Regions from separate parts of the Homo sapiens genome. Here all the other regions are linked to region 1. Evidence: promoter capture Hi-C in 16 types of primary human blood cells and fetal thymus (Javierre and others, 2016). All regions are on one chromosome and are shown on one strand. The core of a region is centred on a gene start or on the middle of the fragment in contact, and the rest is flanking DNA. Distances in the headings are between cores, read along the strand shown.

Region 1 (4,354 bases), core at 1,598-4,097:
ACAAGGTGAGACCCCTATCAAAAAAAAGAAAAGAAAAGAGTGCCAGGGGCCGGGAGCAGTGGCTCACACCTGTAATCCCAGCACTTTGGGAGGCCGAGATGGGCGGATCACGAGGTCAAGAGATCGAGACTATCTGGACAACACGGTGAAACCCCACCTCTACTAAAAATACAAAAATTAGGTGGGCGTGGTGGTGGGTGCCTGTAGTCTCAGCTACTCAGGAGGCTGAGGCAGAAGAATCGCTTGAACCCAGGAGGCGGAGGTTGCAGTGAGCCAAGATTGCGCCACTGTACTCCAGCCTGGTGACAGAGCGAGACTCTGTCTCAAAAAAAAAAAAAAAAAAAAAAAAAAGTGCCAGGTAGGTCAATCCTAAGGCGGCGTGTGGGATTCCAGGATGAGGCGTGGAAGCTTGGATAGTAATGCCGAGGGTGTGAAATTGTAATGCCACTTGATGCTGTGGGGTCAGAGGGATGAGGAAGTGTTTGGGCAGGGACAACCCAGAGGAGCTAAGGGGCTGTGGGACAGAAAAAGGAGATGCTAGTTCCAGAAAATGTTGTGGTCAGGGCCAGTTGGCCTAGGGGAGTTGTTGAGTCAGGGTTTGGGTTTTTGAAGAAGCCATTTTACTTTGTGGGCAAGGCTGAATGCAAAGGGGGCCTGTCTGCCTCCTGCTGCCATCAACATGCCGTCACTGCACCCAGGCTGTTCGTGCTGAGGAGCTCCTGCAGACCCATGCTGAGCTGCCCTCAGCCCCCCTCAGCCTCCTTCCTGTGCTTGTTGGCATCTAAAGTCCCATGCTTAACTCTAGCCTTGAACAGGATGGTCCACCGGGTGGATCACGAAAGGGAGCCATTAAGGATCTTTCAAGCTGGCATGTCCCTAATGTGGGCAGAATGGATCAGGCAGCAGGAATGCGAGTCCCTGGAGATGACACGCTCCACATGTGTATATAGGGCTGTGGTGCCTTTGGCCTCTTGTATCCACGCTTTAGAAAGCAGACTGAGGATCCTATTCAGGAAAATCCTGGACAAAGGAGGGGTACCGAGGGAACCTGAAGAGGGACCTGGAGACCCCACATTAGCTGATTTCTCATATGGTGGCTGAGCAAGTCTCTTTTTTTTTTTTTTTGGTTTTGTTTTGTTTTTGAGACAGAGTCTCACTCTGTTCCCTAGGCTCGAGCGCAGTGGCGCTGTCTCGGCTCACTGCAACCTCTGCCTCCCGAGTTCAAGCAATTTTCCTGCCTCAGCCTCCTGAGTAGCTGGGAATACAGGCATGTGCCACCACGCCCAGCTAATTATTGTTTTTTCTTTGAGACAGAGTCTCACTCTGTCACCCAGGCTGGAGTGCAATGGTGCGATCTCGGCTCACTGCAACCTTTCCACCTTCCGAGTTCAAGCAATTCTCTGCCTCATCCTCCTGAGTAGCTGGGATTACAGTCACCCGCCACCATGCCTGGCTAATTTTTATATTTTTAGTAGAGACGGGGTTTCACCATCTTGGCCACGCTGGTCTCGAACTCCTGACCTTGGGTGAACCACCTGCCTTGGCCTCCCAAAGTGCTGGGATTACAGGCATGAGCCACCATGCCCAGCCAATTTTTTGTGTGTTTTTAGTAGATGGGGTTTTGCCATGTTGGTCAGACTGGACTCGAACTCCTGACCTCAAGTGATCTGCTTGCCTCGGCCTTCCAAAGTGCTGGGATTGTATACAGGTGTGAGCCACTGCGCCCAGCCAAGTCTCAGCATTGATGGTAAAATGAGCTATAAACTTGGTAACTGGCTATCCCTAACTGCCTTCTCTTACTCATGCCAACTGCAGCATCTGCAACTCTGCTAAAGCCAGATCAACCCTGGAGGGCTCTGGGAGCACAATGTAGGCTGGAGTGACAGACCCCACACAGATATGCCAATCATAGGCCAAACAATGACGACCCCTTTCCACCTTCTCAGGAAGCAAGTCTGTCCACCAAGGTCTACCACCAACAGCCAAGAACAAAGGAAAAAGAAAAGGGCATCCACTTCCCCCAGAGGGGCAGAGACAGGTACCTTGCAAGGGGCTTGTGCCCGGTGAGCCAGGGTGCTTGGAGGGCAAAGGGGTAGGTGAAGGAGAGGTCCCAAGGTGGAGCAGCACCGTCCCAGCCAGGGGCCTTCAGGCTTGTGGCCACGCTGCAGTATTTGAGCAAAGGCATCCTGGGCCCCGTGGAGGATTCCATGGCCTTCAGAGGATCCACCTGAGAATAGGCACCACCATTACCTGAGCTGCAGCTTGAAGCAAGCAGTGGCCACCGGGGCGAGGCAGGGCTCAGCTCTGCAGTTAGCTGCCTCTGGGGACAGTTGAGTCCATGCACGGCCCTACCTGCTCCCACAAACTCTCACAGTTTCCTCTTTGAGTCACCTGCCTTGGGAACCTCCACTCAGGAAACAGGGAAGGGATTGGAAGAGCAAGTGCTGTGAGTTTAGAGCAGCCCAGCTTTAAATCCTCCCCTACAGCCTGCTGGCTGTGTGCTCACTTAACCTCTGCTCTCCAGTTACACTCAGGATAGAATACATGGAAAGCACCTGGCGTATTCAGCAGCTCAACTTATGTTAGTATTTTTCCTCCTTCCTCCTCCCCGGCCACCTACAAGGCTAGTTCTGGCCTCAGGCAAGCTGAGATCTCAGGGCCGTCCATCCCCTTTCCAGCCCTGTTCAGAGGAGACAGCTGCCACCAGGGCCCAAGATCAAGCCGCACTGCTGCAGCCCACCAGAGCCCCGTGAGGGTCTGCCCCTGCCCAAGTCCACAGGTCTGACCCCACAAGGACTTACCCACAGCCCCAAACTCCCAGCCTCCACCTCAGCCTCAGGCTCCTTCTGACAGTTGGGGCTCAGGGTCTCAGCCCAACCGACTCCTGGTTGCCACGCCGGTTACCATGGGTGCAGCCTGGGGACGCTGTCGTCTGTGGCCAGTGAGTGCACCGAGCATGCGGAGAGGGGGACAGGAGGCCTTGGGAGGTAGGGGTGGGGCAGGAAGTGATGGGGGAGGGGGTGTTCTCCAGGTTTCCCTTTGGAGAGAAGAGGAGGAGGAAGAAGGGAAAAAGGCCAGTGTAGCCTCAGTTCTCCAAAGCTCAGGCTGCTCCACTGCTGGAAGAGTCAGTGGTGGTGGGAAGCCCTCACGGATCCCAGGAGACTCCTGTGAGGGAGGAGCCACCTCCGCAGAAACTGAGGGCGTCCTCCCTGTACACACTAGAGGCAGGAATGGGGGAGCCACTGGCGGCCTGGGGACTCTAGGATAGAATTTGTCCCTAGTCTAAACCAAAATAACCAAAGGTGTGGGCCTGTTTGTCTATAACAGGCAGGACTCTGTTGAGGAGCAGAGGTGTTGTGACCATTTGGAGTGAGAGGTGTGGACACTGGCAACAAAGGAACAGAAGTCCAGATTCTGCTTGTGGGAGGGGCTCGTATTTGGAGGCCTCTGCCAGTCACTGTGCACTGGTTATATGCCTGGTATGCAGGCACGTTTGGATGTGTCTCCCCCACATTCATACCCCGCTTCTACCAGGTCCTGTTTCAGTTGGCAGATCCATGTGGATAGGGAGGCCAAAGTACCCACCTCCAGGGGTAGAGTGGGTGTCAGTCACCCCTTCCATCCCCGTCTGGCCCCAGGGGTTGGTCAGGCAGTGGCGTGTTCCTGAACCTCTCCAATCAGCAGGAATCTGGAGACTTTGGTTGGGAATCCTGGGATATAGGCTTTCTCTTTCTTCCTATGCCTGAATAAGAAAGCTGATAGTTCTGAGAGCCTCTGACAGCCTTTTGGGAACACTGAAGCTATTCCCAGAGAAAGAGAGGATAGACCTCAGGAAATAGAGGGTTGGTTGGTTTGTTTGTTTTGAGACAGGGTTGCCCAGGCTGGCCTCAAACTCCTGGGCTCAAGGGATGCTTTTGCCTCAGTCTTCCAAGGAGCTCGGACTACAGCCATGCACCCCAACGCCCAGCTGAAAATAGGTTCTCGGTGACAGTACTGAGTCCTGCCTGCAGGCAGTGCTGCTACTCTAGGCCTCAGCTCTGTGAGCCAATAATTCCCCTTATTGATTATGCCACTCTGGATTGGGCTGTTTCTTACTTGCAACCAAAAGCCTCTTAACTGATGACTGCCCTCCCGAAGCATCACTTCATAGTCAGGAGAATGACTGCTGCCCAGGACCGTATACCAAGGCGGAGTTATTTGGCACACAGAGAGTCTAAGAAAGACCCATGGCCGGGCGCGGTGGCTCATGCCTGTAATCCCAGCACTTGGGAGGCCAAGGCAGGTGGATCACGAGGTCAGGAGATCGAGACCATCCTGGCTAACACAGTGAAACCCCGTCTCTACTAAAAATACA
Region 2 (4,500 bases), core at 1,802-4,301, 180 kb after region 1:
AAAAGGTTTCAGTGCAGGAAATGGAAATGGCTGTAGATATTGTAAGCAGAAAGGTCTACAATAGAGAGAACTAAGAGCTTACAAAATGATTAGAAGAGCTGGAGGGGTGAGCTCTAGACTGAACTTCAGGAAGGATTTTTAGGAGACAACAGAACTGACCCAGCTGGGAGGCCACTACTTCTCAGCAACCATGGGACAAACTTCAAGAACTCACTAAGTAGTTCAGACACCTGAGCTTGAACTCTGTCGCTTGTTATCCATGTAACCTTGAACACATTGCTTGAATTCTCAAGAATCAAGACAAGGAAGTTGGCATCATAGCCACTGCTTCTCTGTACCTATAATCTGGTTAATAGATTCATCACCACAATCTTTTTTAATCAAAAACAAACAAAGCTAAAACCAATTGGGAAACAGCCTCTGCCTCATCTAAACTTTTCAAATCTCACATAAGTACATTTCACTAGTAGAAAGTCATGTCCAGAACCCTAGCTGCGAGGGAGCTTAGAAATGCCATTTTTTAGCTTGTCAGGCTCTCAGTGCAGAAAGGCATACGAGAAACAAATTTATCACAGAAAGTCATTCTCTTGGAAATTGGGGCAACCTCAGCCAACACCTATTTGTCTGCATAGGCTCCAAGAGTAGTCATGAGTTTATGCTCATTACGCTCACTGGAAGATGTAGTAGGCATTTGGCTGCCTTGTAAGTATACATCACTCCTTCTCTCTAACAATGCCCAGCTTTTAATTTATTAATTTCATTCGGATATCTACCGCTCCTCTAAGCAACACATGCCTTCGGAAAACTGACCCCAATTCCAGCTCCAGGGGTGGAACCTAATTAAATTAGCACATCCCATCTTTCTGGTCACAGACATTGGTCTAAAGGCAGGCATGTTAACAAAGCCAGAAGAATCATGATGAGAAGCAAGAATTCAAGAATTTTGCTTGAATTGCTGACACAAAAGCACTCTCATGTCTGCTTGATGTAATCAAGAAAACAAGTAGTCCTTGCTTCTGTCTTGCTACCATGGATGAAGCCAACCTGAGGAAAAAGCTCATACACAGAAGAGGGAAGAGCCTGGAATCTCAGAGAAATAGAACTGGGCCCTGCTCAAACCTTACCTGAACTCTATATTAGAGTTATGTAGAAAGAGATTGATTAATGGGTTTAGCAGCAGCTAAAGTGAATTGGAAAACAGATTGGAAGAAAATATCCACAATGAATAACCAGATTCATGGAGAGGCAAAGGGATTGAAAATACAGATATGAACATAAAAGACATACAGAATACAGTGCTAAGGTCTAACGTATGTGTAAACAGAATCCTGGAAGGACAGGGGAGAAAATTTGAAAAAGCAGTATCTAAAGAGATAGTGGATGAAGAATTTCTAAAACTGACAAAAGACAAAGCCCCAGATTCAGGACACATTGTGAAACCCACGCTGAATAAATACCACATTCAGGCAAATAATAGTAAATTATTTTTAAAAAATGACAAAGAAACAATATCAAAAACAGTAAAGAATCGAGAGATTACCTTGACTGGAACAACAACAATGAGGCTGCCAGGTAACTTATCAGTGGAAACTGTAGAAGCCAGAGACAATGGAATATCTTCAAAGTTCTGAAAGAAAATAAGCGCTAATCCAGAATTTCATACCCAGCTAACATGTCCTTCTAAAGGATGAGATGATTTAACTCCAGCAAACCCCTGTTAATGGAAAATACTGAAGGGTGTTCTTGAAGCAGAAGAATATAGGCATTCTAGACACAGGCATTAATGAAGAACATCAAAAAAGGGGGAAGGCTAGATAACTATTGTATTTTTAAAATAATAACAATAATGTAATAACATCTAATGGGTTTAAATATATACATTTAATATTCAATATATTTTTATTACATATATTTATTGTTGTACATAATATATATATGTGTATATATATATAGAGAGAGAGAGAGAGAGAGAATTAAAATATATAACAACAGTAACATATAAGTCCAGACAAGAAATGAAGTTATTCTAAAGGTCCTTACATTGTCTGGAAAGAGAAAGAGTAATAATTTAGATTAGACATTGATAAGCCAGTGCATATTATAATTTCATGGGTCACTACTAAAGGAAGAGTAAAGGAATAGAATTACCAAGCTAACAGAAGGGGAAAATAAAATAATTGAAGAATTCAAAGAATTGAAATTATACAGATTGTGTAAGTGTGTCTTGGACACAGCTTAAGCTAAAACTAATAAGAAAAAGAACAGCAAATTAAACCCAAGGAAACAACCCAAGTAATTAATCACACTGCTTTATTAAAAGAGAAAAAAAGTACATAATTATCTCAATAGGGGCACAAAAATCTTCTGATAAAAGTCAACATCCGGCCGGGTGCGGCAGCTCGGGCCTATAATCCCAGCACTCTGGGAGGCCGAGGCAGGCGGATCACGAGGTCAGGAGATCAAGACCAGCCTGACCAACATGGTGAAACCCCGTCTCTACTAAAAATACAACAAATTAGCTGGGTGTGGTGGCAGCCACCTGTAGTCCCAGCTACTCGGGAGGCTGAGGCAGGAGAATGGCATGAACCCGGGAAGCGGAGCTTGCAGTGAGCTGAGATTACGCCAGCCTGGGTGACAGAGCGAGACTCCTTCTCAGAAAAAAAAAAGTCAACATCCATTTATGATAATAATGCTTAGCAATCTAAGAGTAGAAGGGAATTCTCTTAATCTGATAAAGAATATCTACCCCAAACCTAGAGCAAACTCACATTTAATGGTGAAAACTTAAAAGCTTCTCTGCAACAGGGAACACAGTAGAATACCTGCTATCATCACTTCACCATTGTACTAGGAATCCTAGGTAAGTCAATAAGACAAGAAAAAGAAATTAAGTCTAAGGGTTGGAAAGGGATAAAAATGAATTATTCACAAACAGTATCAGTGTGGATTTAGAAACTTTTTAAAAGTACAGGCATACCTCAGAGATATTATGGGTTCAATTCCAGACCACCACAATAAAGCAAATATTACAATAAAGTGAGTCACACAAATTTTTTTGTTTCCCATTGCATATAAAAGTTATGATTGGGCAGGAATGGTGGCTCACATCTGTAATCCCAGCACTTTGGGAGGCCAAGGTAGGTGGATTGCTTGAGCTCAGGAGTTCAAGGCTAGCTTGGGCAACATGGCAAACCCGTCTCTACAAAAATTACAAAAATTAGCTGGGCATGGTGGCACAAGCCTGTGGTCCTAGCTACTTAGGAGGCTGACAGGTGGAAGGATTACTGGAGCCCAATAGGTCAAGGCTGCAGTAAGCTTAGATCATGCCACTGTACGCCAGCCTAGGCAACAGAATGAGACCCTGTCTCAAAAAAAAAAAAAAAAGTTATGTTTACACTACACTATAGTCTATTGTACAATAGCATAATGTCTAAAAATGTACATTCTTTAATTTAAAAATACTTTATTGCTGAAAATGCTAACAGTCATCTGAGTCTTCAGCGAGTTGTAATCCTTTTGCTGGTGGAGGGTCTTGCCTCAATATTGATGGCTGCTGACTGCTCAGGGTGGTGGTTGGTTGCTGAAGGCTAGGGTAACTGTGACAATTTCTGAAAATAAGACAACAATGAAGTTTGCCACATAATTGACTCTTTCTTTCACAAAAGATTTCTCTATAGCATGCAACGCTGTTTGATGGGATTTTTACCCACAGTAAAACTTCTTTCAAAATTGGAGCCAATCCTCTCAAACCCTGCCGCTGCTTAATCAGCTAAGTTTACATAATTTTCTACCTCTTCTGTTGTCATTTCAACAGTGTTCACAGCATCTTCACCAGGAGTAGATTCCATTTCAAGAAACCACTTTCTTTGTTTATCCATAAGAAGCAACTTCAAGTTTAATCATAAGATTACAGCAATTCAGTCACATCTTGAGGCTCCACTTTTAATCCTAGTTCTCTTGCTGTTTCTGCCACATCAGTAATTACTCCCTCCACTGAAATCTTGAACCTGTCAGAGTCATGCATGAGGGCTGGAATCAACTTCTCCCAAATTCCCATTAATGTTGATATTTTGACCTCCTTCCATTAATCATAAATGTTCTTAATAGCATCTAGAATGGTGAATCCTTTATAGAATATTTTCGTTTTGCCCAGGTCCATCAGAGGAATCACTATGTATGGCAGCTATAGCCTTATGAAATGTATTTCTTCAATAAGACATGGAAGTCACACCTACTCCTTGATCTATGGGCTGCAGAATGAATGCTGTGTTAGCAAGCATGAAAACAACATGAATCTCCCGTACATCTCCATCAGAGAGCTCTTGAGTGACTAGGTGCATTGTCAATTAGCAGTAGTATTTTGAAAGGAGTCTTTTTTTTTTTTTTTTTTTGAGCAGTAGGTCTCAACAGTGGGCTTAAGAGATTCAGTAAATCATGCTATAAACAGATGTGCTGTCATCCCAGCTTTGTTGTTCCATTTATAGAGCACAGGCTGAGTAA
Region 3 (4,233 bases), core at 1,468-3,967, 210 kb after region 1:
CAGTAAGACTATAGCATGTAGGGATGCACATCTGGGTGACAAAACAATAAAGAAACTCAACGAAATTATTACTTATAAAAGTTAAGATGGAAGAAGGGAGGTGCTGGGACTGTGATGGGGAAGGGGGAACATGGAGGACCCTGGGGGGCTGGCAAAGTTCTATTCTTGACCTGAGTGGTGATTATAAGGGTGCTTGCTTTATAGTAATTCCCTGAGTTCCTTTGCTTGCTTGTTTATTTACCAGTCCCTGAAATCACAGCCTGGGAAGCCCTGAAGTAGAGCAGGTGCAGAAGCTGAGGCAGGCAGGGCTGCTTGCTGAGTGAACCAAACACACCTGATTTACCCAGGACCACTGGAGAGGCCTGGCTGGGCCCTACACGGAAGAACGCAGTTGACTCAAATGTCCTTGAAATCTTGAGCTACTAAACAGGTCTGTTCTCTTATATCACACATCATTCCAAAACAGATTTGCAGAAGATTACAAAACAAAACACAGTAGAAAGTGAGTAGGATCAGCTGTTACAAAGAGCAAGGAAATAGTTGGTCCCAGCACCTGCCTTAAGGTAAGCTCAGGCCTAGGCCCACAATATAAACACATACAGCTGAGTTCCATGCTGCCCTTCTTGCCCAGCCAAGAATCCCACTTCCTGCTCCAGAGGTACTGCCTACCTTCCTTCCCCTTTCCTCGGCCTTCTCCGAGAGAACTAAAGCTCTGTCCGTGGGCTCCAGGCAGACGGCTGCAGTGTGGCCTCTCACCCCCTCTGCAGGCAGGACGCTGCGCTGCAGCTCTCTGGGCCCTCTCCTCATCTCTTCAGAAGCATTTACCACCTGCCAGGCCCAGGGGATGGAGACAGGCAAGAGATCCCCCTTTTCCCTCTGGGAGCTCACGGTGCAAGGGCTGAGCCTGACACGAAAGCAGGCAATGACAATCCAGAGAGGAGATGCCAGCATCTAAGAAAATGAAGGAGCACAAGGATGGAATGATTAACTGCCTAGGGAGATTGGGGACACTTCACAGCAGGTGACTGCTAAAGTAAACCCTGTACAACAAACACAAAGTGGGTGAAGGGGAGGCATTCCAGGCAAAGGGAAAATGCATGCAAACCAGGAAAGCATAAAAGAGGGCACTGATTGGTCTGAGGTGCCTGACTTGATCACGTTACACTTCTTCTGGAGCTTCCTGCCAAAGCAGCCTGAAGAATAAAAATGAACGAAGCTGGACCTCTCATAAAGGTCTCCCACCTGCCATCCCCAGGAAAGCAAACCTTTCTTTCAAGAGCTTCCCCCGACCCCCAGCTTCCCACACCTGGTCTCCCTTACCCTCTCAAGAAAGGGCCCATCCTGTCTCAGTCAAGTGACAACCTCTGCACCCCTGGCCGGGTCTTTTCCCTCCTGTGTCTCAGTCTCCTCCTCTGTGGAGTGGGGAAAGAACCCTGTCTGCATCCATGTGAATCAGCCACATAACAGCTAGGAAGGCTCCTAGCACTGCGGGCAGAAGGACCCAGGAGACCCCAGGCCCTCAGGGGCATCCTGGGCAGGCCACAACCCCGAGCCTGCTGGTAAAGAGAGGTGATGCCACAAGACCATCCTCACAGATGGACCCAACTGCACCCGCAGCCACCCACTGCTCATAAACCTCCATAAAAATCAGTGATCCATGCAGTTTTTGTTTCAGGTGTTTTATTAAGTGGGCCATACTGTAGCTGGTTTCTAAGTTGCAAAACATAAATTTAATAATAATAACATAGCCAGTTAGATTGTGACAAGCTTTTCCTTTCCTTAAAAAAAGAAAATACTTAAAAACACACAATGGCGGGTTAAATAAATAAAACATTTTAAAAAAGAAAAAAGAAAAGAAAAACCTGTTAAAACATGCTTATGTTTACTTCTGTGAAACTGTGCCAACAGGAAATGTGGTATTTGGCACGATGACACATCCCGGCATGTCTCCTTCCCAAACAATACTGACAAAAAAGAAAATACGTGGGACTGACTCATCGGTGCTTGCTTAGAGGCACTACTAAAAATCCCTTTGATTGGAGCATGGGGCTTCCCGCGCAGCACACCTGTGTGTGGCCTATGAAAGCCAAATATCCATAATAATGTTAATATAGAAAAACATTAGTTTAAAAATGATGTGGAAGGGCCTCATTAATGCGACGGGGCAAGGAAACATAACTGTCCCGCACGCAGTGCCACAGGCTCAGTCCAGGGAGGCCTCAGGCTTCCAGCATGTGGCCACGGCGAGGGAGGGCACCAGCTTCAAAATAAGCGGCACCAGCCTCGCTCCCTCTCCCTATCACTCTTTCACATGAAAGTGTGTAAAAAGCAAATCAGCAAATAAACTCTAAAATAGATTATTTATTCCAAAAATCCTCTAGTTTTCTTTTTACAGTGAGTGTACATTTTGTCTCCTACTCCTGCACAATCGCTTAAGTCCCTTTGGGAAAAAAGGTCAGAGCTGCAGGGTGAGTCTTTCTCAGTCCTGCTGCTGGCTGGTGCTGGGAGGTCAGATGTCGATGCCCTTGACAAGGGACGTCTCCAGCGTGATGTTGAACTCCTGCAATGTCTGCAGCACACGAATCAAGGAATTGACAAGTGTATGGTCTTTGATCAGTGCCACATCCTCATACATGTGTGCAGTGATGGGGCAGTCAGCCAGCAGGGCAATCCAGTGGTGTAGGAGGTGATCTCTGGCAGAGCGGGAGCAGTCCAGGCAGGTCAGAGGGGCAAAGGAAAAGGAAGAGAGAGCGTTAGTGCAAGGCCAAGGGGGAAACCATGAACTAAGTCTGAAGCTGGAGAAGCTGACAGCCCCCCACACCCCCCTTTCCCAAACAGGGACTGGCAAAGAGGTCTTTCAGCTCCAGGACACCAAACAAACCTGACCCAAATCAGCCCTGTCATGAGCCTCCAAGCCTCCTCCTCCCCTGCCTCCCTCGCCCTGCCTAGTCAGCCCCACCACTGGTGTCTCCCAGAGCTTCTCTCCTCCCACAGCTACCACCACCAGGAATAATAATAAGCACTAACCTCACATAACACTCAGCATGTGCTGGCACTGACATAAGAGATTTAATCTTCATGATAACCCTGTGATATGAGGTAGGTACTATTATTATCCCCACTTTATAGATGAAGAAAGTAGGGTAGATGGAAGTTAAGTAGCTTGTCCAAGATCACATGGCTAGTAAATGGATAACTTGAGATCTGAACCTAGTGAATGCGGTTCTGGAGTCTGTTTTTAACCACTATGCCAATTCTCTCCCTTTATGCAGCCTGAATAAACTGCCTTAAGTTTATTTGAGCTTCATGCTCTCTCACCTGACCTACAGGAATAGCCCCTAATAATCATGTCCACTCTAATGCATACCACCCATAATATCAGATTAATATTACTTCAGTCCCCTGATGAAACAACTTTGTACTAATATGAAAAGAATCTTTCTCTGTCCCAGCTCAGGGGCCCTACCCTCCTTTCAACTGTGTTTCCTATTACTGCCCTTGCCACGTTCTGTTATTTCCTTCCATTAAAGGCTCACTTAAATACCAACTCCTCCCTGAAGTCTTCTCTGATCTTTCTCCTCTACCTTTTCAGCATATTGTATGAATGTACACTTCATTTTTGGACCCTCAAAACCTTCTTCCATGCTCTGTATTTAATTAGGACAAGTAAGCTTCTAAATGTTGGCCAGGCATGGTGGCTCACGCCTGTAATTTCAGCACTTTGGGAGGCCAAGGAAGGCAGATCACCTGAGGTCAGGAGTTCAAGACCAGCCTGACCAACATGGAGAAACCCCGTCTCTACTAACAATACAAAACTAGCCAGGCGTGATGGCGCATGCCTGTAATCCCAGCTACTCGGGAGGCTGAGGCAGGAGACTCACTTGAACCCAGGAGGCGGAGGTTGTGGTGAGCCGAGATCACACCATTGCACTCCAGCCTGGGCAACAAGAGCGAAACTCCATCTCAAAATAAATAAATAAATAAATAAATAAATGGTAAGGGGCCACGTTTTATTCAGCTGTCTTCCTACCAACTTCCATAAGGCCATTTAAATGTCTAATGAAGGAATAACTAGATATACTCTGCTTCAAACTTCCCCAGTGGTGTGATTTTGATCTTTCCTTTCAAAATGGGGCCCCTCTGCCCCGAGTTACATACACGTTGTCATCCCTACCCCGACAGATCACCACACACATAAGTCACGTGTTGCTTAATGACAGGGATACAGTCTGA

What was found. The method cuts DNA at HindIII sites, captures the fragments that hold promoters and counts their contacts. A CHiCAGO score of 5 or more calls a contact.
Region 2: a fragment that was not itself captured here is called in contact with the fragment with the promoter of C11orf16 in region 1 in 1 of 17 cell types (M2 macrophages); the score reaches 5.3 in M2 macrophages.
Region 3: a contact is called between a fragment that was not itself captured here and the fragment with the promoter of C11orf16 in region 1, in 1 of 17 cell types (M2 macrophages). The highest score is 6.2, in M2 macrophages.

Annotation. Positions count from the first base shown.
Region 1 is chr11:8,930,100-8,934,453 of GRCh38, forward strand. C11orf16 (chromosome 11 open reading frame 16) reads right to left here and starts at 2,848. Exons shown (of 7, transcript NM_020643.3): 1 at 2,802-2,848; 2 at 2,043-2,227. The coding sequence starts at 2,209. RefSeq lists an enhancer at 2,467-3,305. The HindIII fragment of the contact is 4,544 bases long and covers 407-4,354 here.
Region 2 is chr11:9,110,631-9,115,130 of GRCh38, forward strand. It overlaps LOC105376542 (a long non-coding RNA gene), which reads right to left. Exons shown (of 4, transcript XR_007062585.1): 3 at 2,769-2,856; 4 at 1,208-1,627. Among named protein-coding and RNA genes, the nearest start is that of SCUBE2, 21 kb to the left of the region's middle. The HindIII fragment of the contact is 524 bases long and covers 2,790-3,313 here.
Region 3 is chr11:9,137,162-9,141,394 of GRCh38, forward strand. DENND5A (DENN domain containing 5A) reads right to left here. Exons shown (of 23, transcript NM_015213.4): 23 at 1,664-2,693. The coding sequence ends at 2,510. Among named protein-coding and RNA genes, the nearest start is that of SCUBE2, 48 kb to the left of the region's middle. RefSeq lists enhancers at 858-1,047, 1,861-2,155. The HindIII fragment of the contact is 1,904 bases long and covers 1,766-3,669 here.